5 separate regions of the Homo sapiens genome follow, and regions 1, 3, 4 and 5 are each linked to region 2. The links are contacts of gene promoters, found by promoter capture Hi-C in blood cells and fetal thymus (Javierre and others, 2016). All regions are on one chromosome and are shown on one strand. The core of a region is centred on a gene start or on the middle of the fragment in contact, and the rest is flanking DNA. Distances in the headings are between cores, read along the strand shown. Region 1 has its middle 210 kb from the start of LINC02947. Region 2 holds the start of CLXN (calaxin). Region 3 has its middle 190 kb from the start of LINC02947. Region 4 overlaps LOC105375821 (a long non-coding RNA gene). Region 5 holds the start of LOC105375821 (a long non-coding RNA gene).

Region 1 (5,635 bases), core at 753-3,252, 430 kb after region 2:
TTTGTTTAGTAAAATAACCCTATAGTCATAGCATTGTTTGGACGGGAAAATTAGATTTGACTTACATCACTTCCTCTTACAAAACTTCTTCCAAGAGCACAGACTGCCTTAAAGCCCGACTGTATTTGAAAAACAGCCTTTTTCTTTTCCTCACCACTCTTATTCTTCTACCATTTAAGTTCTCTGATATGTTTCTAAGCAAGATACCTATTCCAAGAAACTTTTTTAAAAATTAAAAATTAAAGCTAGTGATGAAATGAAAAACACTCCAGTACAGGGATCACTTTTTCAAATCCACCAAGTCATGTCACTGTGAAATAGAAGTAAAAAAAAATCAGGGCCAGGAGCAGTGGCTCACACTTATAATCCCAGCACTTTCGGAGGCCAAGGCAGGCAGATCACTTGAGGTCAGGAGTTTGAGATCAGCCTGGTCAACATGATGAAACCCCATCTCTACTAAAAATACAAAAAGTTAGCCAGGCATGGTGATGCACACCTGTAATCCTGGCTACTCGGGAGGCTGAGGCACAAGAATCGCTTGAACCTGGGAGGTGGAGGTTGCAGTGAGCCAAGATCACACCACTGCACTCCAGCCTAGGTGACAGAGTGAGACTCTGTCTCCAAAAAAAAAAAAAAAAGAAGTAAAAACCCATTTGAAGGTGGAACAACATGACTGTCAATACATGCAACTCCAAAGTTTGAAAATAAACTTCAAGTTACATGCTTGCTTCAGCAGCACATACACTAAAACTGGAATGCTGGAGAGATCAGCATGGCTTCTGTGCAAGGATGACACGCAAATTCATGAAGAGCTCCATATTAAAATAAAATAATAATAATAAAACAACATTCAAATTACAACAGACATTATTAAATATTTTTCATTATTGCCATCTTATCACTAATAGTTTTCTATTTGGTTTTCTACCATGTGACAATCCTTAAAATGCAATTTTGAATTATTCTTAAATTTCTTTCCTTTATTTTAAAGAATGTTTTGTGCTTCCACCCAAAGGCAAAATGAGCAAGAGGAGCTTTATTTTATAAACAAACAGGAGGCTTGGAGCTCATCAAGTACTGATGCTAAGACTTGTTCAGGGAAATTGGCCCAGCTGCAGGCAGGTGGTCAGCTCTGGACTTGTCTGTGTGCACCTAAAATTGTGGTGGGTGAAAGTACAAACATGAGGATGTTAAAGTAAAGTCACATGACCTGCGTGTGCACTTCCTCAGGCACTTGACGGACACACAGTTTTTAAGCATAGTAAACATCAGATCATTTCCAAGGTAAGACTTCCTTTCCATTTTTATTTTTATTTTTTTGCAATGACAGGGCCTCACCATGTTGCCCAGGCTGGACTCGAACTCCTGGGCTCAAGCAATCCTCCCACCTAGGCCTCCTGAGTAACAGACTACAGGCACACACCACCACAACCAGCTGAGGACCTTATTCCCTAATAACATACATGATGTAAACGAAAGAGAAAGTTCTAGAGTTCCAAAGACAAATATGTTATATTCAGGAGCTCTCCTTTCACAAGATCCAGTGCTAGCAACTTCAGAGTAATTCTTTATTTAGAAAATATTCCTTTCAAGTGCTTTTAGAGTGGTAATGCACATTCCCGAACTTCCTCCTACCTGGGAGGTCCCCTCGGAAAACGTAATATTTTTACCTTCTATGCTCTGAAGCCCAAGTAAAGGATGCTACTATCATGTCCTACATTTTTTCTGTGTACTAACAGCATTGTGATAACTGTAAGTGGATTTTTCTGTGAGGTGTCTGGCATGTGTAAAACAAAGAAAGCTTGCCTGCATCTAATTAATCAGCACAGGCTCCGTCTGCTGGTTAATGAAGATGCCAGGTGCCCACAAAGAATACCATAGGTGTGAATTCTTAACACGGAAATGTTTACGAAAATAAATCAAATATTATACAAAATCACCAAAAATCTCAATACCAATGTAAAGTCTAGGATCTGCCTTTACCCTCCTTGTAAGCTAATAGGTTAGCCTATTTCAGTTTCATGGATGCTGGCAGCAGACATGAGACCCCTGGATCGGAGACATGGGACTTTATTACTCAGGACATGGCATGCATATGACAGTTCTCCTTTTCTTGAATGTGTATGGGGCTGGCATGGAGGGGCCCAGATGGATGTTTTACGTGCAGTGGGTTTGTGCCACATCTGACGAGCACTAAGCTTGGGGAACACACCACTGTCACATCAAACAGTAAGTCCGTCCACTCTTTGTCTTGGAGGGAGACCTTACTCAGTTCCTCAAGGTTACTCACTGCAAACACAACCTGAGAAATGGCCAGGCTAAAGGTCAGCCAGGGCTTTGCATTCTTGAAATACCCAGCAAGACTTGTAGACGTGCAAGAAACCCATGGAAAACTGTCCTTCTCAATAATGGTTACTATTGGTAATAATTTAAAGTTTCAACTTCATTAAAGTAATTGCAGAATTTATTTCTTCTTACTTTTTGTAGACGATTTCTTTTACTAACTTTCCACCATACTATACTGTTGGTTAAAACTTTCTAAAACTAGAAGTGAAAATTTCACTACCTTTTATCAAATAGTAGTTGGTCCATTTAGTTGAATTGTAAATAAGGATAAGTGACAACTAAAATTTCACGGAGTTTAAAATTTAAAAAAAAGTTTAATTACCATAATGTGAGACTCGTCAGTTATACGTGAATACTTTCCAGAGTCCCTTTTGAAGTATTCACAGCGATAGAATTTTAAATGGGATAGAGTATTATAGAATGGCAGAAATCCATAGATAAGCCCTTAAACTTATAGCATCACAGAATTTAAAGCCTTCGGGTTTGACAGAAACCAATTATAATATTTTGACAGCTGGCTTTTATGTTCTTATTTTGGCATTAGCCAAAAATCTTGTACCACCACAGTGTAACAGCTTTAAATCAAGAAGTGGTTGAGTTTCCACAATTGCTATAAACATTTCTGCTTTGCCTTTATAGAACACTTGACTGTCTCCAAAGTGTTTTCCCACACCTTCTCTCCTTTGCACCTCACCTTTACCATAATGTTTAGGTAGAAGATTTTGATATCTCCCTTTGAGGAAACTAAGAAGCAGAGCAGTCACATGAGAGCTGGGAGCTGGTGCAGTCCATTCCGAAGAGCTGGGCTGTATTTGCACCCCGTAGCTGCTCCCCCACTTTGCCACCAGCTCCCCCACTCTATCAGCTGAGAAGCTGCAGACAGCTGGTCACAGAAAACCTTACTCATACTTACTTCAGCTGCAAGGAATTTACAGGCTCTCCTGACTGAGCAAGTCCAGGGGAGGGGCACACTTCCAGGGAGGTTTGCTGAGGGCACATCTGTGGTCTGCCGTCCTCAGGGTGTGTGCTCCCTCCCAGGCTGACTAGTCTCATTAGAGTGAATTGCCCACAGCAATTCCAGGTCCAATGCCCACCCACCATCACTCAGATGCAAAGGGATGTCCTCCTCTCAACCATCAAAGAACATTCTTGACCAGCCTTCTAATTAGGCCAACCTAAACCAATCATTTTGGCCAGGGTGTGTGTCATAGATGCTAAGCGGCCACCCTAATGTCCACTACACTGATAATTTTGAAAAGTGTTCACGATGCAGCACTCAGTTTGCAAGGTGCTTTCTATGGATAACTTGCTAAGCTTTAACGGTCTCTGAGGTCATGGGATAAATGCAGTGCTTCATATGAATTAACTAATTTATTTTCCACACCCTTATGAAAACCTTATAAGGCAGGTGCTACTGTTATACTCGTTTTAGAGATGAGGAAACCAAAGCTGAGAGAGGTTAAGTGACTTGTCCAATGCCGCACAGCTCAGAGGCAGGAGATCCTAGATTCAAGCCGACAGGCTGATCCCAGAGCCCACATGCTTACACATGGCACCAAGCCGCTGCCTGTGGGAGAAGGAAAAACAGGAGTCCTGTGGCTACATGAATTTGGGAAGTCCTGCATAACATATTCCCCTCTTGGAGACTCACAGCGCACATTAGGATAAGAATATTCTGAGAAATCCTGCAAGAAAGAAATTTATTTAATTTGTTTAACTCAACATTTCCCAACCTCACATTGTTACAGAGCTTTTCTTGTCTAACACCTCCAGGGAATAGCTTTCCACCCATTTATCTGTCTTTAGTGAGGTACTCTGTCATATGACTAAAATAAAATTCATGATAAATCAGCTCCTTTTCCATGGAGAGCCTTTGTTTTCCTCGTTTTGCTTTGCATTGGCGAGTTCAACCAAGGCTCAGGGTCCCACGGTGCTGCTGTCTCTTCCCTGTTATACTGCCCTGATTGAGAGAGCAGTGATGGTCAGTGGGGGTTCTGTGTGGAGCGGAGGCTGCCTCCTAGGCTGGCATCTCATCTGTTTCTAGTACTTTTCTAAGTGAGAGTGTTTGGACACTGAACTAAATGAGTATTGGTAAGACAAAAATAGAGCAGCACTAACACTTCTGATCCCAACATTTTAAAGAGTTATACAGGAATGCTCACTTAGCTTTTAGTAAATAGAGAACAGTTTGTCCTTGCAGACATTCCTCAGGAAGAGAGAGGAAGAGGCACTACTAATAATTAGGTGGGTCTGAGCTGTTTTAGTCCATTCTCGCATTGCTATAAAGAAACACCTGAGACTGGGTTTAAAAAAAAAAAAAAAAGAGGGTGAGTTGGCTCACAGTTCCGCAGGCTGTACAGGAAGCACAATGCTGGCATCTGCTGGGCTTCTGTGGAGGCCTCAGGAAACTTTCAATCATGGCAGAAGGGGAAGTGGGAGCAGGCGTCTCACATGGCAGGAGCAGGAGCAAGAGAGAAAGGAGGAAGTGCTACACACTTTTAGAAGACCAGATCTCATGAGCACTCACTCAGTATCACAGGGACAGCATCAAGGCAATGGATGGTGCTAACCCATTCATGAGAAATCCATCCCCATGATCCAATTGCCTCCCGCCAGGTCCCACCTCCAACACTGGCGATTACAATTCAAATGAGATTTGAGTAGGGCAACATCCAAACTCTGTCATGGGCCCTTCAGATGGGAATGTGTGCAGAGTGCTCCCCACTGTTACAAAGTTATTTCACTTCTGTGACCCTGTGTGGCACACACAAAGCCCTCTCCCTCCAGGCTCCTGACTTGATGTCTGAGCATCTGACTTGGGCAGGGTCTGTCTTCATTTCCTCATGTTTTTGTAATGTGTCTCTTGTTCACAAAGTCAACCGTCAGGTCTATTGCCATTTGCTGCTCTGGTACAGTTCCCTCAGGCCACTTGTTTTTCAAAGCACACAACTGGGAAGAGATTGTTTTTATTTGAGTCAATAAAAAAGTCACTCACTCCAAAGCTACTTCAGGCTGAGAGCAGGTACGTGTGCACGGCACCTCCAACCTGGGAGCCCGCCTTTGGCTTCACAGCCATCTTCATGTTCAGGCTCCCTACTGGCTCTACATTTGCCTGTCTGCTCTCCAGGAGATGCATTTGAAATCTCAGCGTTTTTGTCATCGACTGAGTGCAGAAAGTCAGCCTTGGCATTATTGCCCATCAGCAACTTGTGGTCACTGGCCAGGAAGTTCTCAATCTCACGGTGATGCAGAAACTTGTACTGGAGGATTAGGGCTCTCCATTAGTCAC
Region 2 (5,771 bases), core at 1,856-4,355:
ATTCGACCACCCAAACAACTGGTCACACATATAACTCTTATTTTTGTTATCGCTGTCTCCACAAAATAAAATTAGTAAAGTTGAATTTCTATTATGCAGGTAACTAACCTATTTCCCTTTTATTCAAGCAATTTTATAATAGATTTGTGATATACTTGGAGATCAATTCTATGATGTCATTTCCTCAACAGTTTCCAAAGGCCTTCATCATAAAAGGTCCACATTAAGGAAAACAATTTCATCAAGTCAAGGTCCAAGCTGTTTATCATGGCAACAATCCAGTGAATGCTGAGTCAAAGGGAAGATTGTTTTGCACACAAAACTAAAGGAAACATAGCATTAATAGTCACTTTAATGTACTTCTGTGTTTACAAAGTTATTCATCTTGAGGTTGCTTGGATTTTTGGAAAGTTCTATGATCATTTCATGCACAGTAAAATTTATGTCCAATACGAATTAAACACAATCCTTTATTATTCCATTATTGATTGATTTAATATGAAGTAGCCTCTTAGGCTTAATTGCCTTACTCTGAGAAAGCTCTTGGGGGAAAGCAGTCCTGTGTCTACTCAGCATAAGCAACTAAAACTACAAATAGAAACTTCAACTTGCTTTGAAATGTTATTCACTGACTCAATCAGGCCTGCAACTTGTTTCTAAAGTCTAAAAATATTAAGTTCCAAAACTTCACAAGAATGTAATGAAAGCTCTGAAGTTTACCCGTATGTTGACAAAACATACTCCAAATAAACATTGTGCTTTCCCTGAAAAAGATGATAAGACCTTATTGTAAGGTCAACTCTGCAAATCACTCTCTTAGATAAGTGAGATTCACAAAACAATGCATTTGCATAGATAGATAGAAAGATAGATAGATAGATGATAGATAGATAGATAGATAGATAGATAGATAGATAGATAGATTGGTTGATTTTTTTGGCTAAAAGAACTGCATGGAAGAAAGAACTGGAGGATAAAAGAAGTGGAAGAGGAGGAGGTGACTTACAAAGTTTGCTCAACAGGTTAAGGAGTTTTGGCCCGGCATATTTTAATTTCAACAATCTGTGATATTGCCCCTACATCTTTTTATTATTTTTTTAACTTTAAGGGAACATGGCTGATGGGCTCTAGGCCTTAAACTCGTGAAGGAATAACTAATTAGCTTACCTATAGCAAGCACCCGGTGTATGCGATCTCCCCAGGCCACCAGAAATAACCACCAATGTGCTCACCAACAGCGCAGGCCTGCTCCCCAACACAGGCCTAGTACATCAGGTGGGGAGCCCACAGCGTCTCTTAGTAATTACTGACAACCACTCTTTCGGTTCCTTGTCTCTTGAAGTGAGCAGTGCAGCAATCTCTAGGAATTAAGTATTTGCTACAGCTCTGTGATCCAACAGAAATCAATAAGGTGTCACAGGTAAGTATAATTCAAATATGTCCAGTCTTTCCCTTTTGTTCTCTATGGTCTCAGGAATTTCACTCTTCTAGACAAGGGGATATGTAGAAACACTATTTAAAAATACTACTGTTACAAACTCATAATCACCATCAATTCATATCGGGTAACTGTTGTTAGGACATTTGCTTTAGGATAACACAGTCCATGCCTTTACCAAGCACCCTTTGCTCTAGTTTCAAACAGCATCCCAATCCTTCATTCCACAAACAAATGAAACAGTAAAGAAAAACCAGAGGCCTCGACATTGGAATTATTTCATTTGGGATTATTACTCATGGTTAGTAGAATTTTTCTGCCTTCAGTCTAAAAATGCCAGTATGTGTACAATAACATAGTTTGTCATTTTCCCCTCTGAAGTTAAACGAGCAGGCACTCTGGAGAATACTGTAGATTTGGTGATCCTGGCTGAGCCACCCCTTTTTATTGCTGCCTTAGCTGAAAGAGGATATCCCCTCTGTGATCAGGAAAAGCAGAAAGTCCTCCCACCCTGAAGATGTAAGGAATATCCTTTGTCTGCCGGCACAGAACTTGTCTTTCAAATAAGTAAAGGACCAAGGTTGCTGAGATATTTTCCGGAAAAGCAAGATTGGGCTGTACCCCACACCCAAGTGGTGTTGTCAGCCCGTTTTCATTGGGGGGAATGCCTATTTAAGCAGTATAAAAATTCCTCGTGGCTTTCCTCAGATTCCACAGACAACCTCCATCTTTTGGAAGTGAGATGAGGGCAGTGGGAAAAGAAAAAAACTACAGTCACAAGCCACATAGCGCCATTTAAGTCAACATCAGACAACATTAGGACAGTGGTCCCATAAGATGTAACACTGTACTGGAACACTGCACCTTCCCCAGAGTGCTTAGCACTCTGTTTTAGCTGCCTGCAGCATTCCGCGCTGTGACCTGCTGTGCAGGGGTGCAGCCCAGAAGCAATGGGTTGTACCATACAGCCTGGCGTGCAGTAGGCAAGGCCATCTAGGTTTGTGTCGGTGCACCGTGATGTGCACACAGTGATGAAATCTCCTAGTGACCTCGGAACGCGTCCCGCTCCTTAGGCAACCCGTGGCTGTATTCCAATTTCCCCTTGCTCTCAGAAACACAACTAAAAGCTCGAAGACCTCAGGTGACAGACTGCCTCCTGTTACCTCACCAAGACTGAAAACCTAAGCAGTGGCTCCGCCCAAAGAGCAAGCTTCTAGCCCTCTGACGGGAGGCCCGGCAAGATCGTCCTCTGGACAGCACCTTGCTATTTTGTGACGCTGCTCCAGCCCCCAAGATGTCCAAGATCTTGGGCCTTCCCTTGAGGCGTGACGCTCACGACCCGAAACACCTCTCATACAGCGTGCACACCACATTTCAGATTTTAATGATTTACACTGCAATCAAGCAAAGAGGCTGCGAACTCAAAAGCCAGCAACAACTGAACATTTAAACTCCAACGTCAACAGTCAGAATACAGCCCTCAAGGCGGCCAGCTGGGACCCTGCCGGCGGCACCGCGCACCGAGAACCCAGCGCGAGCAGTCGCTGAGCCGATGGGCGGGGCCCAGCTGTAGCTTTGGCTACGTCGCGGGCAGCCTGGGAGCCAATCCGCGGCGGGCTGAGCCGTTGCCTTGGCTACACCGTCTGTTAGGGCCGCGCACGAGATCAGTAACTGAGACCTCACCGCGTTGACCCAGCACCAGGGCTCGCGGGGGTCCCGCGAGGGTCTCGGTAGCCGCGCGCCCAGAGACCCCCGCCGCGGCCCGATTCTCTGAGCGCCAGACATGAACCGCAAGAAACTGCAGAAGCTGACGGACACCTTAACCAAAAATTGCAAGCATTGTAAGTAAGAATGTAGTGCTGGACAGGCCGAGGCTCCTGGACCGAGCCTGGGTCCCACCCCGTGCTAAGGTCCGCTGTTGTGCCTGCTTCCCGCCTGCTGGGACTCTGTGGGCTACCTACCGCCCCTCCACCCCGGCCCCTTAAGCAGAAGTCAGAGAGGGAATCCCGGGGTGCCAGCTCCTTGCGTTTGATCTTAGGAACCCAGGCCTCCGCCTCTGGTGCTACCTACACTCCCACACATGCATTTACTTGCTTCTCCAACCCTCTTCTTTTACCTGATAGAAACATGTGATGTTAGCCTCAATGAGGTGTAAAATAAATGCTAAAACCAACTGGTCTCAAGAAAAGTAGCACCACCAAGGTAGACCGTGCACTCACCCTGCTTTATAGCTCGCACATACACCCGCAGGTCCAAGTTCTGGAAGCTTACCAAGAGACCCATAGGAGAAAACGGTGCTCAACTTCTCAACATCTTTCGGAGAGATGAGTTGTGTCATCTCATCTGTGCCTCAGAACAATATTTGTTTGGAAACCAGAGTTCAGCACAACTAAACACGTGGTAAAGAATGGGTTCCCAACTTTAGACTCCCACTTTCCAGTGGCCCCTGGTGTTGAAAGATAAAGGAGACTTTGCAGGTGACAAGATGAGCCCTATTTGAAGGCACCTGCTCTAATCTCGCATTTGAAAGGGTGGTCCTAGAATTTCATAGGAAACTTTGAGTTTATATTCAGACTGAAAAACATAATTGCACTTTAGCAAGGAAGCCGTGGGTATGGTTTAGATGAGGAAGATAATTTCCTGTCGAGCAAACTTAGAAGTTGTGTGTGCTAATTGCAAAACTACTGGCCACTTGAAGAAACAGAAGCAACAATCCCCCAAATAACCGAGTCGCTCAAAAAAGAAGGAATAAACATGTTGATGTAGTTTTAGAGATTGTAAGATCTAGTGCATTCTAATTATCATTAGTATCTGATTTAATACCTGGTAAGAAATGCTCTCTTAGTGGATGGTGATATAAATGAATATTATGGTGTGTGTACGCATCTTAAAATGTTTAGGAAAAAAATCCTGTAATTTAAGATATTATTATGACTACTATACTCTGATGAGGGTTTTGTTCTGTTATTGTTTTTCTTAAAACACTTTCATTTCTGGGAGAATAGGTATTCTTCTAGTAAACATCTAGTAAACATTTTTGATAAATATTCAAAAACAATGCAATAGCTGCTATACACAATACTGATTTTGTCCCTTTCCGTAAGTTTGAATTTGATTTAGTCTCTGTTCGGTAAGTTTGAATGCATTGCAGACAATCATTCTGTGAACAATCAAAAGGTGAGTGTATATTTTTAAAGGTAAGTAAAAATATGGCAGGAAAAAGTCTGCTCTTGATTTTTTTGTTTACTAAAAAATTTTCAATGAGTCTTACAAACTTAGATGATTATTAGTTAAAGTCTATAGAAATAGTTATACGTCATGGACATTATAATAATTTTAAATTTTCTTTAACGGAAGAACTTTCCCCTAAAGTTAAATTTTGTTTTAGTTGCAAGACAATAAAGCTATCAAGATTCAATGGATAAATTTTGTAGAATCAAAGAAGAGTGAAAGATCTTAAGAGAACATCTAGTTCATGCACTGTTCTACAGATATGTTCTGCAGGACACATTCACAGCATTCCAAGAAGATGAAAACCTATTCTTGAATTTTCTTGTTTCATTTAGTATTGTATTCTAGAATTTAAGAAATGTTTAGCAATAAAAGTTTTCTTATGGCTAACCTTTGATCCTTTGGGTAATAAATTAAACTAGTTTTTAAAAATTTTTATTTCAGCTGAGATGGAAAAATGGCTAACCAACATCCCCTCTGCTACCATTTTATGTACATGAACAGAGTACATCATTCTTCATGCAGGCTTTTCTTCCGCAACAACTAACAGCTCTTGCTTTTTAGGAGGTTTGTGTGTGTGTGTGTATGTGGTTACATATAACATGAAATTTACTATTTTAACCATTTTAAGTGCTTAATTTCATGGCATTAAGTACATTCACACTGTTCTGCTTGCAACACCACCATCCACCTCCGTAACTTGTTCATTGTTCCCAGTGGAAACTCTACCCATTAAATGTTAACTCACCATTCCCTCCTCATCCTAGTCCCTGGCAACTATCATTCTACTTTGTCTCTATAAATCTGACTAAGTACCTTATATAAGAGGAATCATACAATATGTGTCCTTTTGTGTCTGGCTTATTTGACTAAGTGCAATATCCATAAATGTTCATCTATGTGTCAGAATTTTCTTCCTTTTTAAGGCTGAATGATATTTCATTGTATGAATACACCACATTTTGTCTATCCATTCCTCCATTGATGGACTCTTGCATCTGTCTTTTGACTGTTGTGAATGATGACACTATGAACATTGTTGTACAGGTTCCTGCTTTCAGTTCTTCTGAGTATGTAAATAGAAGTAGAATTCCTGGATCAC
Region 3 (5,569 bases), core at 1,224-3,723, 410 kb after region 2:
ATCGACCCTCGGAAGGATTCCTTCTCCATTAAAGGCCCGTCAAGTCATGTTGAGCCAGTGCAAGGAAGAGCTCAGGGAAGGAGCCCGTCCCTGCAGGGCTGCGAATCCCCAGCCTCGGTGTCCCGAGGGGGCTGAGTGGCTGCACTCCCAGGCCGTCCAGTAAGCCCCTCAGACATTTACGCCCGGGCCAGGCCCTCCACCACCGGAGAAGCCCGTGAGTCCAGTCACTGAGCAAGGACCTCAGGCTTTCCCGGCTGGGTGGGGCCCAGGAACTGGTAATCTGCACCCGGCCGGGATAGAGAGAGGCCCCCTTCTTTGCAGCTGGGCTTCTGGTCGTCGTTGGTAGACATCAGACTCAGGCGCTGGCTTTGGCCCTGGTTGAGACGATGCTCCTGTAGGAGAGGCCACGCACAGATGGCGGCATGATCTACAGCTGTTCAGAAGACGGTGTTGACAAAGCAAGCTTGACTGGGCTCATTGGGAGCCCGTAGGATGGCTCACTCTAATCCCAGATAGCCCACCTGGATCGCAACCTCCTGAGCCTCAGCAGCCACCCCCACCACACCCCCACTTGCTGAAAAAGAGCCAAGGTGCCCCCCAGATAAACTTTCCTTGGAGAGTCAGTTTTCACCCAGTTAAAATGGGATATAAACTTGGTTCTGAGCAGGATGTGAAAATGCCTGTGTGCTGGTCAGAACTTCGTGTGTATGAGGGACAAGCAGAGTCTGCCACCTCCAAAGCCAACGTGAAACACTGCTAAAGAAATCAACTTCTAAACACTGAATGAAACATTTTACTAAATTACCATTAATTGCGTTCATTCCCTACGTCCTTAGAAAAGATTTTGTAAGAGAAAAGAAACAAGGTTTTTCTTTTCTCTTTTCTCAACTTTTATTTTAGGTTCAGGGAGTGCGTGTGCAGCTTTGTTGCATGGATAGATTAGGTGTCACTGGGGTTTGGTGTAGAAATGATTCCATCACCCAGGTAGTGAGCATAATATCTGATGGTAGTTTTTCGATCCTCTCCTTCCTCCCACCCTCCAGCCTCCAATGGCCCCAGTGTGTGTTGTTCCCATCTTTACATCCATGTGTTCTCATCACTTAGCTCCTACTTATAAGTAAGAACATGTGATATTTGGTTTTCTGTTCCTCCACTAATTTGCTTTGGATAATTGCCTCTAGCTGCATCCATGTTGCTGCAAAGGACATGATTTTGAGGTTTTTTTATGGCTGCATGATATTCCATAGTGTATATGTACCACATTTTCTTTATCCAGTCTATCATTGAGGGGCATTTAGGTTGATTCCATGTCTTTGCTATTGTGAATAGTGCTGCAGTGAACATACGTGTGCATGGTAGAACAACATCTATTCCTTTGAGTATATACGCAGTAATGGGATTACTGGGTCAAATGGTAGTCCTGTTTTAAGTTCTTTCAGAAATCTCCAGACTGCTTTCCACAGTGGCAGAACTAATTTACATTCCCACCAGCAGTATATAAGCATTCCTTTTTCTACACAAGCTCACCAGGATCTGTTATAATATTTTTTGACTTTTTAATAATAGCCATTCTGATTGGTGTGAGATGGTACCTCATTGTGGTTTTAATTTGCATTTCTCTAATGATTAGCGATGCTGAGCATGTTTCATATTCCTGTTGGCCATGAACATGTATATCTTCCTTTGAGAAGTGTCTGTTAATGTTCTTTGCCCATTTTTTAGTGGGGTTGTTTTTCTTTTGTAAATTTGTTTAATTTCCTTATAGATAGTGGATATTAGACCTTTGTCAGATACACAGTTTGCAAACATTTTCTCCCATTTCATAGGTTATCTGTTTACTCTGTTGATAGTTTCTTTTGCTGTGCAGAAGCTGTTTAGATTAATTAGGTCCCACTTGTCTATTTTTGTTTGTGTTGCAGTTGCTTTAGGGGACTTCATCATGAAATCATTGCCAATGCTTATGTCCAGAATGGTATTTCCTAGGTTTTATTTCACGGTTTCTATAGTTTTAGGTCTTACATTTAAGGCTGTAATCCATCTTGAGTTGATTTTTGTATATGGTGGAAGGAAGAGGCCGCCCTCTTTCCAGGGCCTGCCCTGGTCCAGCTCTTCCTACAAGTCTTCCTTCCCAGCCCTTGCAGGCCTCTCAGGCCTGGGTGCAGCCTTCTCCCTGACCTCTGAGTCTGCTCCTTCCTCTGAATTGGTAGAGAGAGTGACCAGCTTCTGTGACCTGGGGACACAGAGGTTGCCTGGGCTGCACAACCACCCCACCCCACTTCATGCTGAGCCCTCCCCCGGGTCCTGGGCCCAGTGCATCTCTCCGTCTTCCCTGCTCATTGCTCTTGCCATTTCTCTGAAGCTGCATCTCAGTCTACCTCCTGTACTTTGTTTCAAGGCTCCTGCCTTCTCATTCCTCTTTACAAGCCACAATTTCACTTGGGCAAAAATAAACTTAACTCCGTAAAATACTGCCATCCACACCACGCAGCTTCCCCCCATCACCAATGCCTTCATTGTTGCCAGAATCACCAACTGCTTTTCTTCAGGAGTCATTTGCATGACCTATAAACACATTTCCATGTCCAGGACACCACCGTCTTGTTCACTTAACACCTGGTGTTATCATGTCATTCCTACCTCTCCTCCTGCTCAGAATCACCCTCTCAACTAGCACTCACTTTTGGGAGGAGTGCTTTTAAACATAATTTTAACGATTAACTTCACTTTTATTCAAAATTTGATTCTTCATCTAAATAAAGAGTTGTTGGGCAACTCTAAATGTAAAAATCTCCATTTACCTGGGAAAGTGTTGAATGTGACCAAGTGTTGAATGCACTCAAGAAATATTTGTTCAAAGGATAAATTGATTAATAGATGGATGGCTCGATGGATCAATGAGTCCCATACTACACTTTCTGCAGAGGCCAGCATCCATTTCACTTTGAGTTACAGCTCCAGAGCTGGGGGATAAGTAATGCGGTCATTAGGACTGCTCCTGAGCCGCCACCACCCCACACATACGGTCATCGGTCATTTCTAGAGGGTCTGTGCTGTAGAGCTTCACACAACGCAGCCATGAAACACAGGGGACCCAGTAAATGTAAGCTGATTGAAATTAAAGTAATCACAATAAAATAGTATTGCAGTCATAACCAGCTACATGTCAGGTGCTCACAGCCGTATGTGACTAGTGCTACCATATTGGATAGTGCATGTTATAGAACATTTTCATCAACATAGAAATTCTATTGAACAGTGCTTATATGGAGGGTATCTGAAAGCCATTTCAGATTCCCCAGAACCCCTTCCATGAGAGGTGACAACTCATAGCAGTACCCTGCTTCATGCCAACATGACCCATACTGGTCATATGAGATACCCTGTCATTTGCATGACATAACAGAAAATACATGTTTGGGTTTTGTCCCCAGTTCCTGGAGACAAAGTTCCTATCACTCACAATACTGAGTGACGGGGTGAGAGGAATGTGTTTCGTTATTCACAGCAAGCCCCTTTCCACCACACCTGAGTTTATGCCATTGAGGTGAGTCTTGGTGGACCCTAGACAGTTTCAGGATAGGGCTGGCTGCCCAGGAACCAACCATGTGATTAGAGAGTTGGAACTCTCAACTCCACACCCTGGGTCAGGGTCTGGAAATTGAGTTCAATCACCAATGGCCAGTGATTTAACCAAGCATGCCTACAACATGGAACCCCCATTAAAAACCCTTAAATGAAAGGCTTAGAGTGCTTCCCAGTTGTTGAACGCATTGAGGGGCTGGGTGGGTGATACACCCAGAGAGGGCACTCCTTTCCCCACACCTTGCCCTGTGCATCACTGCCATTTGGCTGTTTCTAAATTGTATCCTTCCCAATAAACTGGAAATCGTTTAAGTAAAATGTTTCCCAAGTTCTGTAAACCATTATAGTAAACTACCGAACCTCAGGGGGATTCGTGGGCATCCCCAGTTTGTAGCCCAATGGGACAATAGTGTGGGTAACCTGGGCACCCACTACTTGCAACTGGCATCTGAAATGACAGGTATTCTTGCAGGACAGAGCCCTTAATTTGTGGGGTCTGGGTTACTCTGGAGAATTGATGTCAGAATTGAATTGAATCACTGGACACCCAGCTGGTATCAGAGAATCAGAAAATCAAACCATGCAAGGAAAAAACTCACTCAGTTTGAAATGGAGAAAATGGTCTGCAATGTTTCCCTTCAACAAAAAGACTGTGGGGTGATGTTTTGGTCGCATTGTGCCTGCAAGAAGGCTGCCTTTAGAGGTGGGGGAGGCATTTCTATTTATACACTGTCTGCAGAGCACTTTGCAATCCTTCAGCATGAAAAGCTCTATATAAGTGCAAGGTGTTATTGCAAGGTGTTAACAGTTCCAAATGAACCCTTTCATTTAACTGTGTCAACCTCTGGATTAGCCAGTCTTAACTCAATAGATGGTGGAATGGGTAGAACTAACAAGCTTTTGTTTAGAATATTTATATGTCTGACCTGAGAATTATGAAAGATTTTTTTCAATTCATGCCAGGGGGAAATTTTAAACATTTTTGCCAAAAACACATAGGTCATAGAACCTTATTCTTCATTTTCTTTAAATATAGGTAGAATTAAATCCAGAAATAATAATGGTAATAATTCTAAATATTTCTCCAGCATCTTTCTTTCAAAACTTTTGAGAATGTATCCATGGATTACTTTACTTACTCCAGACCTATTTGCTCTGAACAGTCAATGTCAGTAATAAGGAAAGGAGAAGCCATGGGCATCGGCCTGTGCTCTTTCTCTCCTAATCTCTGTGGAGGAGGAGAAGGCTTTTGATGTACGCTCCCAGCATCTCTGTGGTGCAATCCAAACTCCTAGGTATGACTCAGGCACTTACTTCTGGAAGCTCATTTCCTGGGTGGAAGCCTGAAGGCTCAGGGAGTAAGCCTTCCAGACACACTGCTTCACAGACACAACCGATTGGCCTCCCCCTCATAACCGTGACAACCCCAGCATGGAAGATCATCAAATACTTTGTGTTAGGGCTTTCCAGAGAAAAAGAACCGATATGATACACACACACATACACACACACACACACACACACACACACACACACACACACAGAATGGGAGGTGGGGAGGGATTTAGTATAAGGAACTGCTTCATGTGATGTGGGCCTGGCCCTCTGCAATGCCAACATTCCATTTGAGCCTGAAAGCTAGAATCTGCTGTGGAACCAGGAAGAGGTGATATCCCAGGATGAAGGCCTCCAGGCAGGAGGATTCTCTCACGCGTTGGGGAGGTCAGCCTTTTGTTCTATTCAGGCCTTCAACTGGTTATATGAGGCCCTGAACACTGGGAGAGGCGCTTGGCTTTACTCCATCTACTGACTTAGATGTTAATCTCACCCAGAAACATCTTCACAGAAACACCAAAAATAATGTTTGATAAATCTCTGGGCAGTCCATGGCCCAGTCAAGTGGACACGTAAAATTAAACAGCACCTGTGGTACACGTAGAACAGAAGGGCTGCTCTAAGAGGAACTCAGCACAGTCCACATGCATCC
Region 4 (5,560 bases), core at 120-2,619, 330 kb after region 2:
TGCTGAGAGGGGATTTTTCAGAAGAGTTTTTGTTTTAATGGGGAGGAAGGGGTTCTATGATATTCGTGCTCAAGACACACGTACCTCAAGCCAAATAAGGGCACTTCACAGGCCCTGTGGCAACATGAAAGGCCTGTCAGAGAGGTCTTGGGGAATTGGACAGTTGTGACTACTTCTTGTTGAAAAAAGTCTAACCATGATAGGTTACCTAATCTGCCCTGACAGCAGAGCAAGGAGAACAGTCTAGAGCAGGACCTGCACTTCTACTGACAGGGCAAGTAATGGCCCATATCTCCATGAGCAACATTCCACAGTGCTGCTATTACAGCAAAAGCTGAGAGTTGGTTGAAGTGGTCAGGTAGACCACGCAAGTGTCTCCTTCTGAAATGGGTAAGGAAAAGGCAGCTTCTGAGCCCCTGGAGAGGTAACAATGTCAAATAATAACTGCACTAGACAAATGAGACCTTCCTGCCACCTACTCTCCTCCTTCCCAGCCCCTAACTCCAGAGTAGAAGGAAAGGGTGAAGAAATGTTCTCCTTTCCAGTGCCAGGTCCCCAGGCTAGATAAGGACTGAGATGGGGTCAGGGAGGGGAGACACTTTCAATTAGATGAGAGATCAAAGTTAGGATTTAATTCAGGCTTGACTTTGAATAGTTAGAAGTAAATAGGAAAACTATGATTTCTGCCTGAGATCTCCTCAAGAGCAATGAAGAAAACATCAATTGATTAATTAAAATTGGATTGTTTCCTGCTTTGCACTTTCCTAAGTCCATTCAATATATGGGTGACACACATAACTGGAATGTGAGTGGGGAAAAGGAGGGCAGAGAGAAGCAGGAAGTAGTCTGTTGTTTCACATTACAAGTCAGAAAAATTGGGGCAAGAATTCAAAGAAAATTTTAGCATGGTGCATTTAAAAACTTAGGGTGGAAATGTGTTCTCATGACACTGACTTCCCTGCTGTGTTATGGTAAGTGGGAAGGATGGATGTGAGCATGGGTCCACAGCTCCTCTCCAGAGAGGGCCCCTCCTCACTCTCAGGCCAGGACTCCTGGGGGTCTGCTGCTGGAATCCTGGTGAGGGCATGCCCCACCAGGAGCCTGTGTGGGAAACCATGTGCTCCTCGGTGGTTTCTTTAAACTTGGTGCCAGGGAAGCTTCAGCAAGTTGAACATCCCAGCTGTGCTCTGAGTGTGTGAGACGTCCCAACTCCAATATCCACCACAAAGTTAAGAAAGGAGAGAAGAGGAAAGGAAGCTGGAAGTTCTCTGAGTACTGGTAACTACCAAGCCCATCTGGACACAGGGGCTGTGGGGTGGCCTCTGCGAGAGCCACTCTTGTCTTCATGACTAAGGGGATGCCCAGCAGCATCTGCTCATCTTCTTCCGAAATGGACCCTGTTTAGGTTAGTCTTGCTGAGCACTTAGGTGCATGTCTTCCTGGTAATAAAATTGAAATAACGTATTTTCTTGGCTGCTCCATAAACTGTTCTATGAATTTATTCTACAGGAGAAAAGGAAGGAGGTGGAATAAATGTGGCATTGGCTTTTTGATTGTGGTTTTTATTTCCATAAAGCTTAGATCACAAGAATGCATGAGATATTTACACAAATCTTTCCACAATTCCTGTGGCCTGTGGGGGCATAGCATTTCTATGACTTCACCACCGTGGCTGGCGTGTGCTCTCTCAGCAACTTTGCTGGCGACAGGGAGCAGGCCCCACCAGGGCCTGTAGTTCTGGGGCAGAGCAGGCAAGGTTTGTGTGTACCTTATTTCTTCTTCCTTCCATGCTTTTTCTGTAGCAAATTCAACTTCGAAAAGCGGTCTGGGCTTTTCTCTATCATAAAACATGGTGAGTTTTCTTATCATTAAGTACTCACTCTTTCCTAGATCATTTCCTTGGGGATGATAAAGTCAGAGGATGATAACTGCGAAAAACCAGGCTTCATTCACCTTTGCCATGAGAAGACTCAAGGGCTGATCCATCCCAGGTGAGAGAAGCACGGGAAAAAGGCAGCTGTGAGGCAACAAGGCCCATCACACAAGCTTCTCAAGTGATTCAGATTTCTGTAGCTGCAACAGGTTCTCCAGCAGATGGGGGATGAAGCAGCCTGGGAGTCTCGGGCTGCGTGAGGCTAGACTCCAAGCTTCACATAGGCACAGGGTGCACAGCAGGGCCAGGTGGGCAGCCGCTGCAGGAAGACTACCTGCAGGAAGTCTTTAGACGCCAGCTGCACACACCAACATAAAGTAGCAGCAGTGTGTGCGGGTGATGGTTTCCAAGCCACCTGATGTGGAGCATAAATGACTCATCCCCTGTCCAGACACCACCCCGGCTTTTCTCACATTAGTCATCTTATTTCTTATTTCTCTGACTTTGCACTACTGCCCACTAAGAATGTTGGTATCATGATCATCACTTTAAATGATGGGGGACAGGGTTGGTAGAGGTTTGGGAACACACAGACCTCCTATGGCCATGGCCATTTGGCCACGTGAGCCCCTTCTGCACCCTCCTCCACCATCTGTGAGAGGCAGTGCACTTTGGGAGGAAAAGTATAACGTTTAGCCAAGGAGACTGGCATTTAGGTCCTGTCTTCACCACTTCTTAAGCGAGACACATGGTCAGCCTGCCTAGCCTCTCTGCCTCCTTTGCCTTGCCTGTGTAGTGGACATAACCACATCTACCTTGCTGAGCTTGCTGAGGATGGAATGCAGCTGCACTAGGGCAATGTCTGGGGCACAAGAGGTGTCTCAGCAAATGAAATCTGAATAAAGCTCCTGGTCTGAGCTGAGAACAAGCATCCTGTAATTCAGGTTTTAATTATCTTGATTCACCTAACATCTGCAGTGGGCAGAAAGCACTGGGGGCAGCTGTACCCGGCAGCCTGGCTGCCCCAGAGAGTGAGTGGGGCTCCTTCCACCCAAGAAACAGAACACTTTATCCACAGTAGGGAAATCTCAAGGCACCCAAGGGAAATTGTCCGGTGATTTACATGTGACCGTGTGGGCTTCACAGGTGGCAGGAAGAAGACCCAGTGTCCACACTGGGAGTAGGGAGCCCCTGAGAGGAGCCCTCAGGGTCCCAGCAGGAACATGAGTATGCCACATGCTCACATCTGCTCATCCATCTCCAAGGTCCCTTCACTACCTCCATCCCTTATGAGGTTTTCTGGGAAATTTAACTTGTTTTCATGCAGGTTTAACAAGAAGCAATATAGCTTTTATTACATACAAATTAAATAGCCTAAAGGAAAAGTTTCAATTCCATTGTGGTGTTTAAACGTGACCCTGTAGGCTCCGTTCCCTCTGGGAATGCTGGACTCCAGATCATGGCCAAGCATGTTCAGAAGCCAGCAGCCCACAGCACCCTCACAGACCCAGGCCATCTTCCCTCGCTGACCTCAGACCGCACAGCTGTCTCCTTGAATGAACAATAAAATGCCTGGCTGCAACACCAGGCACAGCCAGCAGTTTCATTCCATATCATTTAGCACTTTTCACATCAAGACCAGCAGATTTTAAGAGTCAAAACCTTTATAAACTTCAGAGCTCTTCATAGTGGTTTTTAACTTAAGCAGGGAGTAGAAAAGATGAGAAAATTCCCCCAGAGAGATTTTAAAAAAAAGCCAGTTATTCTTTTAGAAGTCAAAGCATCTTAAATATCTTGATAGGAACATAACACCTCATGCAGATCTATGTGAGGAAGCCCTTCTCTGTGGAACTCAACATAGTATCTGGGAACAGACTTTTTACTAATTCTTTATATACTGCAACCAGATCAGACACAACTCCTCATGGACTGTGATTCTAACAGTGTTTGAAGCTAATCTAGAAATGATTTAAGCAATATCATTCCACAAACCAGGTCAAAACACAAATAGCAGCACCTAAAAATCCTCTGAACATTTCCTTGCAATAGCGACTCACTAGGAAATAAGACTCACAGCCACAGCAGGGCATAGGAAGGGGTCCCAGGTGTGAATGCAGACAGAAGGACTTGCCCAGCTTTTCCTGGGAGCAGCTGGGCACCCACAAAGGCAGGGCTGGGAGTCATAGCGGAGACACTGGGGAAGAAGGACACATCTCACGGAAGCCTGTGAGCATAACAATTTGGGAAAACCCAGAGGAGTGACTGGTTTTCCTCTTTTTTAACTACGGCTGTAGCACATGCTGTATTTTTGCCTTAATATCAATATACAATAAGATAGGTCTTCAGAAATAACACCACACATCTACAACCATCTGATCTAACAAAAACAAGCAATGGTGAAAGGATTCCCTATTTAATAAATGATGCTGGGAAAACTGGCTAGCAATATTCAGAAAACTGAAACTGAACTCCTTCCTTACACCTTATACAAAAATTAATTCAAGATGGATTAAAGACTTAAATGTAAAACCCAAAACCATAAAAACCCTAGAAGAAACCCTAGGCAATACCATTCAGTACATAGGCATGGGCAAGGACTCCATGACAAAAATGCCAAAAGCAATTGCAACGAAAGCCAAAATTGACAAATGGGATCAAATTAAACTAAAGAGCTTCTGCACAGCAAAAGAAACTATCATCAGAGTGAACAGGCAACCTACAGAATGAGAGAAAATTTTTCCAATCTACCCATCTGACAAAAGTCTAATATCCAGAATTTACAAGGAACTTAAACATATTTACAAGAAAAAAACAACCCCATCAAAAAGTGGACAAAGGATATGAACAGACACTTCTCAAAAGAAGACATTTACACAGCCAACAAACGTGGAAAAAAAGCTCAATATCAATGATCCTCAGAGAAACACAAATCAAAACCACAATGAGATACCATCTCACACCAGTCAGAATGGTGATTATTAAAAAGTCAGGAAACAATAGATGCTGGTGAGGCTGTAGAGAAATAGGAATGCTTTTACACTGCTGGTGGGAGTGTAAATTAGTTCAACCATTGTGGAAGACAGTATGGTGATTCCTCAAGGATCTAGAACCAGAAATACCATTTGAATCAGCAACCCCTTTACTGGGTATATACCCAAAGGAATAGAAATCATTCTGCCATAAAGACACATGCACATGTATGTTTATTGCAGCACTATTTAAAATAGCAAAGACATGAAACCAACCCAAATGCTCATCAATGATAGACTGATAAAGAAAATGTGGTACATATACACCATGGAATACTATGCAGCCATAAAAAGGAATGAGATCATGTCCTTTGCAGAGACATGGATGGAGCTGGAAGCCACCATCCTCAGCAAACTAACACAGGAACAGAAAACCAAATGCCACATGTTATCACTCATAAGTGGGAGTTGAACTTTGAGAATACATGGACATAGGGAAGGGAACAACGCACACCAGGGCCTGTTGGGGGGTGAGGGGTGAGGGAAGGGAACTTAGAAGATGAGTAATAGGTGCAGCAAACCACCATGGCACACATATACCTATGTAACAAATCTGCATGTTCTACACATGTATCCCATAATTTTAGAATAAATTTTAAAAAATAATAAATAAATCCATAAAAGATAGGTCTTGCTGGAGTGGCTCTGGGCTTGGTTT
Region 5 (4,967 bases), core at 399-2,898, 390 kb after region 2:
ACTTTTTATCATTATGTAATGCCTTTCTTTGTCTTTTTTGATCTTCGTGGTTTAAAGTCTATTTTGTCTGAAACTAAGATCGCAACCTCTGCTTTTTTCTATTTTCTATTAGCTTGGTAGATTTTTCTTCATCCCTTTATTTTGAGCCTATGTGTGTCATTGCATGTGAGATGGATCTCTTGAAGACAGCATACCATTGGGTCTTTATCCAGCTTGCCACTCTGTGCCCTTTAATTGGGGCATTTAGCCCATTTACATTCAAAGTTAGTATTGATGTGTGTGGATTTGTTCCTGTCATCATGATTTTAACTGGTTATTTTGCAGACTTGTTTATGTGGTTGCTTAATAGTGCCACTGGTCTGTGTACTTTGGTGTGTTTTTGTAGCAGCTGGTAATGGTCTTTTCTTTCCATATTTAGTGCTTCCTTCTAGAGCTCTTGTAATGCAGGTCTGCTGGTAACAAATTCCCTCAGCATTTCCTTGTCTGAAAAGGATCTTATTTCTCCTTCACTTATGAAGCTTGGTTTGGCTGGATATGAAATTCCAGGTTGGAATTTCTTTTCTTTAAGAAGTTTGAATATTGGCCCCAGATATATTCTGGTTTGCAGGGTTTCTGCTGAGAGGTCCAGTGTTAGTCTGAAGGGCTTCCCTTTGTAGGTTACCTGACCTTTCTCACTAGCTGCCATTAACATTTTTTTCTTTTATTTTGACGTTGGAGAATCTGATTATGTGTCTTGGGGATGATCTTCTTGTGAAGTATCTTAGTGGGGTTCTCTGCATTTGTTGAATTTGAATGTTGGCCTCTCTAGCTAGGTTGGGGAAGTTCTTATGAATGATATCCCCAAGTATGTTTTCCAAGTTGGTTTCATTCTCCCCATCACTTTCAGGGACACCAGTGAGTCATAGATTTACTCTCTTTAAATAATCTCACATTTATTGGAGGTTTTATTAATTCCTTTCCATTCTTTTTTCTCTATTCTTGTCTGACTGTCTTATTTCAGAAAGCCAATCATCAAGTTCTGAGATTCTTCCCTTTTCTTGGACTATTCTGTTATTAATACTTGTGATTGCATTATGAAATTCTTGTAATGTGTTTTTCAGCTCTATCAGGTTGGTTAAATTCTTTTTTCTATACTGGCTATTTTGTCTGTCAGCTCCTGTTTTGTTTTATCATGATTTCTAGGTTTTTTGAATTGGGTTTCAATGTACTCCTCTAGCTCAATGATCTTCCTTCCTATCCATATTCTGAATTCGATTTCTGTCATTTCAGCCATCTCAGCCCAGTTCAAAATACTTGCTGCAGAGGTGATGTGGTCATTTGAAGGAAAGAGGGCATTCCAGCTTTTAGAGTTTTCAGGGTTCTTGCACTGATTCTTTCTCATCTTTGTAGGCTTATCTCCCTTCAATCTTTGAGGCTTCTGACCTTTGGCAGAGTGTTTTTTTTTTCTTCTTTTATACTACCTGATGACATTGAGGGTTTGATTGTGGTATAAGGTGAATTCAGATGGCTGGCTCTATTTCTGGAAGATTTTAGGTAGACAGTGCTCATCTCCCATCTCATGGACTCTGTGCTCTGAACTGGTATTGGGCCCCAGCTTTGTTCTCTGGCTCCTCAAGGTTAAGAATCCACTTGTGCCAGGGGGTGGGGGGCCTGAGGTGTGGCAGCTATGACAGAGTGTTTGCAGGTGCCAGGGTGCCTGTCTCCCTGCAGGCATTTACTACGGTGACAGAGGCAACACAGCTGGTGGGGTGGTGTCAGGGGGGCCCTTGCTGGGGACTATGTGCACAGTCATGCTAAAGGTGGTGTTGGCTCAGGGGTAAGGTGCTGGTGGACACAGATCTAGGTGCCTTATCTGTGCCCCACAAGCAGGAGTGATTGCTAAGGGCAGGGGAGAATCCACTGTTCTCTACACAGTGTTAGTGCAAGGGCAGGGTGTTGGTGGGGGTGGGGGTGGGACTGGTTGACTCTCTGCCCACCAAGGCTTCATCTGCAATGGCAGTCAGTTGAGGGAGGAGGGCCAGACTGCACTCCCTTGCACTGGTGGAGCAAGGAAAGCAAAACCCATCCATGCAGATGGGCAACAGCAAGCAACATGGGGAGTTGCCATGGACTTGGGGGAAGCTGCAGTATGGGGAGGGAGCATGCAAGCTGCTGTATGGCCATAGTGGCTGCCCCATTAGACCTCTCCACTGGTCAGGCACAGTCCACCAGCACAGAAGCTATGGTGCAGGCCCCCAGGGCACCTGAGACTGCTCTGCAAGCAGGTGTGGCCAGGCTGAGGCCCTAAGAGAGGCCAGCAGACCAACGGGTGCTCAGATGAGACGAGCACCATTGGATGAGCAAGATTGCCCTGCAAAGTTCAGGCCTGACAGTTCCCCTAGTGAATGTCCTTTATTTCTTTCCCTTGCATGATTGCCCTGGCCAGAACTCCCAATACTATGTTGAATAGGAGGGTTAAGAGAGGACATCCTTGTCTTGTGCCAGTTTTCAAGGGGAATGCTTCCAGCTTTTGTGCATTCAGTATGATGTTGGCTGTCAGTTTGTCATAGGTGACTCTTATTACTTTGACGTATGTTCTTTCAAAACATAGTTTATTGATTACTATGTTAGTTCATTCTCATGTTGTAATAAAGACATACCCAAGACTGGGTAATTTACAAAGAAAAAGAGGTTCAATGGACTCATAGTTCCACATGACTGGGGAGGCCTCACAATCATGGTGGAAGGCAAAGAAGTAACAGAGACACATCTCACATGGCAGCAGGCAAAAAAGCTTGTGTAGGAGAACTCCCCTTTAAAAAACCATCAGATCTCATGAGCCTTATTCACTATCATGAGAACACATGGGAAAGACCCGCTCCCATGATTCAATTACATCCCACTGAGTTCTTCCCACAACATGTGGGAATTATGGGAGCTACAATTCAAGATGAGATTTGGGTGGGGACACAACTAAACCATATCATTCCACCTCTGGCCCCTCCAAAATCTCATGTTCTCATATTTCAAAACCAATCATGCCTTCCCAACAGTCCCCCAAAGTCTTACCTCATTTCAGCATTAACTCAGAGGTCCACAGTTCAAAGTCTCATCTGAGACAAGGCAAGTCCCTTCTGCCTATGAGCCTGTAAAATTAAAAGCAAGTTAGTTACTTCCTCGATACAATGAGGGTACAGGCATTGAGTAAATACACCCATTCCCAATGGGAGAAACTGACCAAAACAAAAGCACTACAGGCCCCATCCAAGTGCAAAATCCAATAGGGCAGTCATTAAACCTTAAAGTTCTAAAATGATCTCCTTTGACTCTATGTCTTACATCCAGGTCATGCTGATTCAAGAGGTAGTTTCCCACAGCCTTGGGCAGCTCCACCCTTGTGGCTTTGCAATGTATAGCCCACTCCTGGCTGCTTTCATGTGCTGGCACTGAGTGTCTGAGGCTTCTCCAGGCACAGAGTGCAAGCTGTCAGATCTCCATCTGAGACCACCTCAACCTGGACTTCATTGCCCCTATCACCATCAGCATTTTGGTCAAAGCCATTCAACAGGTCTGTAGGAAGTTCCAAATTTTTCCATATCTTCCTGTCCACTTCTAAACCCTACAAATTGTTCCAACCTCTGCCTCTTACCAAGTTCCAAAGACACTTCCACATTTTTGGGTATCTTTACATCAGCATCCCATTACCCAGTACCAATTTACTGTATTAGTCCATTCTCATGCTGCTAATGAACTAATAAAACCATTTATAAAAGGATCAGATCTCATGAGACTTATTCACCATCTTGAGAAAGACCTAGCCCCATGATTCAGTTACCTCCCTCCAGGTCCCTCCCACAACACTTGAGAATTATGGGAGCCACAATTCAAGATGAAATTCGGGTGGGGACACAGCCAAACCATATCAGAGGGCATCCTTGTCTTGTGCCAGTTTCCAAGGGGAATGCTTCCAGCTTTTGCACATTCAATACGATGTTGGCTGTCAGTTTGTCATAGGTGGCTCTTATTATTTTGAAGTATATTCCTTCAATATCTAGTTTATTGAGATTTTTTAACAGGAAGGGATGTTGAATTTTGTCAAAAGCCTTTTCTGCATCTACTGAGAAAATCACGTGACTTTAGTCTTTAGTTCCATTTATGTGATGAGTCACATTTATTGATTGGCATATGTTGAAGCAACCCTGTGTCCCAGGGATAAATCCTATTTGATCATGGTGGATTAGCTTTTTTATTTGCCACTGGATTCACTTTGCTAGTAGTTTGTTGACAATTTTTGCATCAATGTTCATCAAAGATATTGGCCTGAAGTTTTCTTTTTTTGTTGTGTTTCTGCCAGATTTTGGTGTTAGGATGATGCTGACCTCATAGAATGATTTAAGGAAGAGTCCCTTCTCCTCAATTTTTTGGAATAGCTTCATCAGAAATGGTAGCATCTCTTCTTCGTACATGAGGCAGAATTCAGATATCTGGTGAATCTATCTGGTGCTGTGCCTTTTTTTTTTGTGGTTGATAGTCTATTTATTACTAATTCAATTTTGGAGCTCATTATTGGTCTCTTCAGGGATTCAATTTCTTCATGTTTCAATCTTTGGAGGATGTGTGTGTCTAATAATTTATCCATCTCTTCTAGGTTTTCTAGTCTGTGTGCATAAGTGTTTGTAGTAATCTCTGATGGTTATTTGTATCTCTGTAGGGTCAGTGATAACATTCCATTCATCATTTCTGATTGTGACTATTTGTATATTTTCTTTATTAGTCTATCTGTCTTACTAATTTTTTTTCAAACAACCAAATTCTGGATTCGTTGGTCTTTTGAATGGTGTTTTGTGTCCTACTCAGCTTCAGTTCTGCTCAGATTTTGGTTATTTCTTGCCTCCTGATAGCTTTGAGGCTGGTTTGCTGTTACTTGTCTAGTTCTATTAGTTGTGACATTAGGTTGTTAATTGGAGATCATTCTAACTTTTTGTTGT

The links. Contacts are between HindIII fragments. The CHiCAGO score rates a contact against its expected background, and 5 or more counts as called.
Region 1: a contact is called between a fragment that was not itself captured here and the fragment with the promoter of CLXN in region 2, in 1 of 17 cell types (endothelial precursors). The highest score is 5.2, in endothelial precursors.
Region 3: a fragment that was not itself captured here is called in contact with the fragment with the promoter of CLXN in region 2 in 4 of 17 cell types (endothelial precursors, M1 macrophages, M2 macrophages and 1 more); the score reaches 6.6 in endothelial precursors.
Region 4: a contact is called between a fragment that was not itself captured here and the fragment with the promoter of CLXN in region 2, in 1 of 17 cell types (endothelial precursors). The highest score is 5.1, in endothelial precursors.
Region 5: a contact is called between a fragment that was not itself captured here and the fragment with the promoter of CLXN in region 2, in 1 of 17 cell types (endothelial precursors). The highest score is 5.2, in endothelial precursors.

What each region holds. Positions count from the first base shown.
Region 1 is chr8:48,303,116-48,308,750 of GRCh38, reverse strand. It overlaps the pseudogene RNU6-295P. Among named protein-coding and RNA genes, the nearest start is that of LINC02947, 210 kb to the left of the region's middle. The HindIII fragment of the contact is 397 bases long and covers 1,804-2,200 here.
Region 2 is chr8:48,732,602-48,738,372 of GRCh38, reverse strand. It overlaps CLXN (calaxin), which reads left to right and starts at 3,105. Exons shown (of 6, transcript NM_024593.4): 1 at 3,105-3,279. The coding sequence starts at 3,222. RefSeq lists an enhancer at 3,026-3,700. The HindIII fragment of the contact is 1,056 bases long and covers 2,651-3,706 here.
Region 3 is chr8:48,323,711-48,329,279 of GRCh38, reverse strand. No RefSeq gene overlaps it. Among named protein-coding and RNA genes, the nearest start is that of LINC02947, 190 kb to the left of the region's middle. RefSeq lists an enhancer at 5,281-5,569. The HindIII fragment of the contact is 4,016 bases long and covers 466-4,481 here.
Region 4 is chr8:48,404,703-48,410,262 of GRCh38, reverse strand. The region is part of intron 2 of LOC105375821 (a long non-coding RNA gene); the gene reads right to left. Among named protein-coding and RNA genes, the nearest start is that of LINC02947, 110 kb to the left of the region's middle. The HindIII fragment of the contact is 419 bases long and covers 1,160-1,578 here.
Region 5 is chr8:48,344,908-48,349,874 of GRCh38, reverse strand. LOC105375821 (a long non-coding RNA gene) reads right to left here and starts at 3,085. Exons shown (of 4, transcript XR_001745891.1): 1 at 3,049-3,085. The HindIII fragment of the contact is 2,255 bases long and covers 521-2,775 here.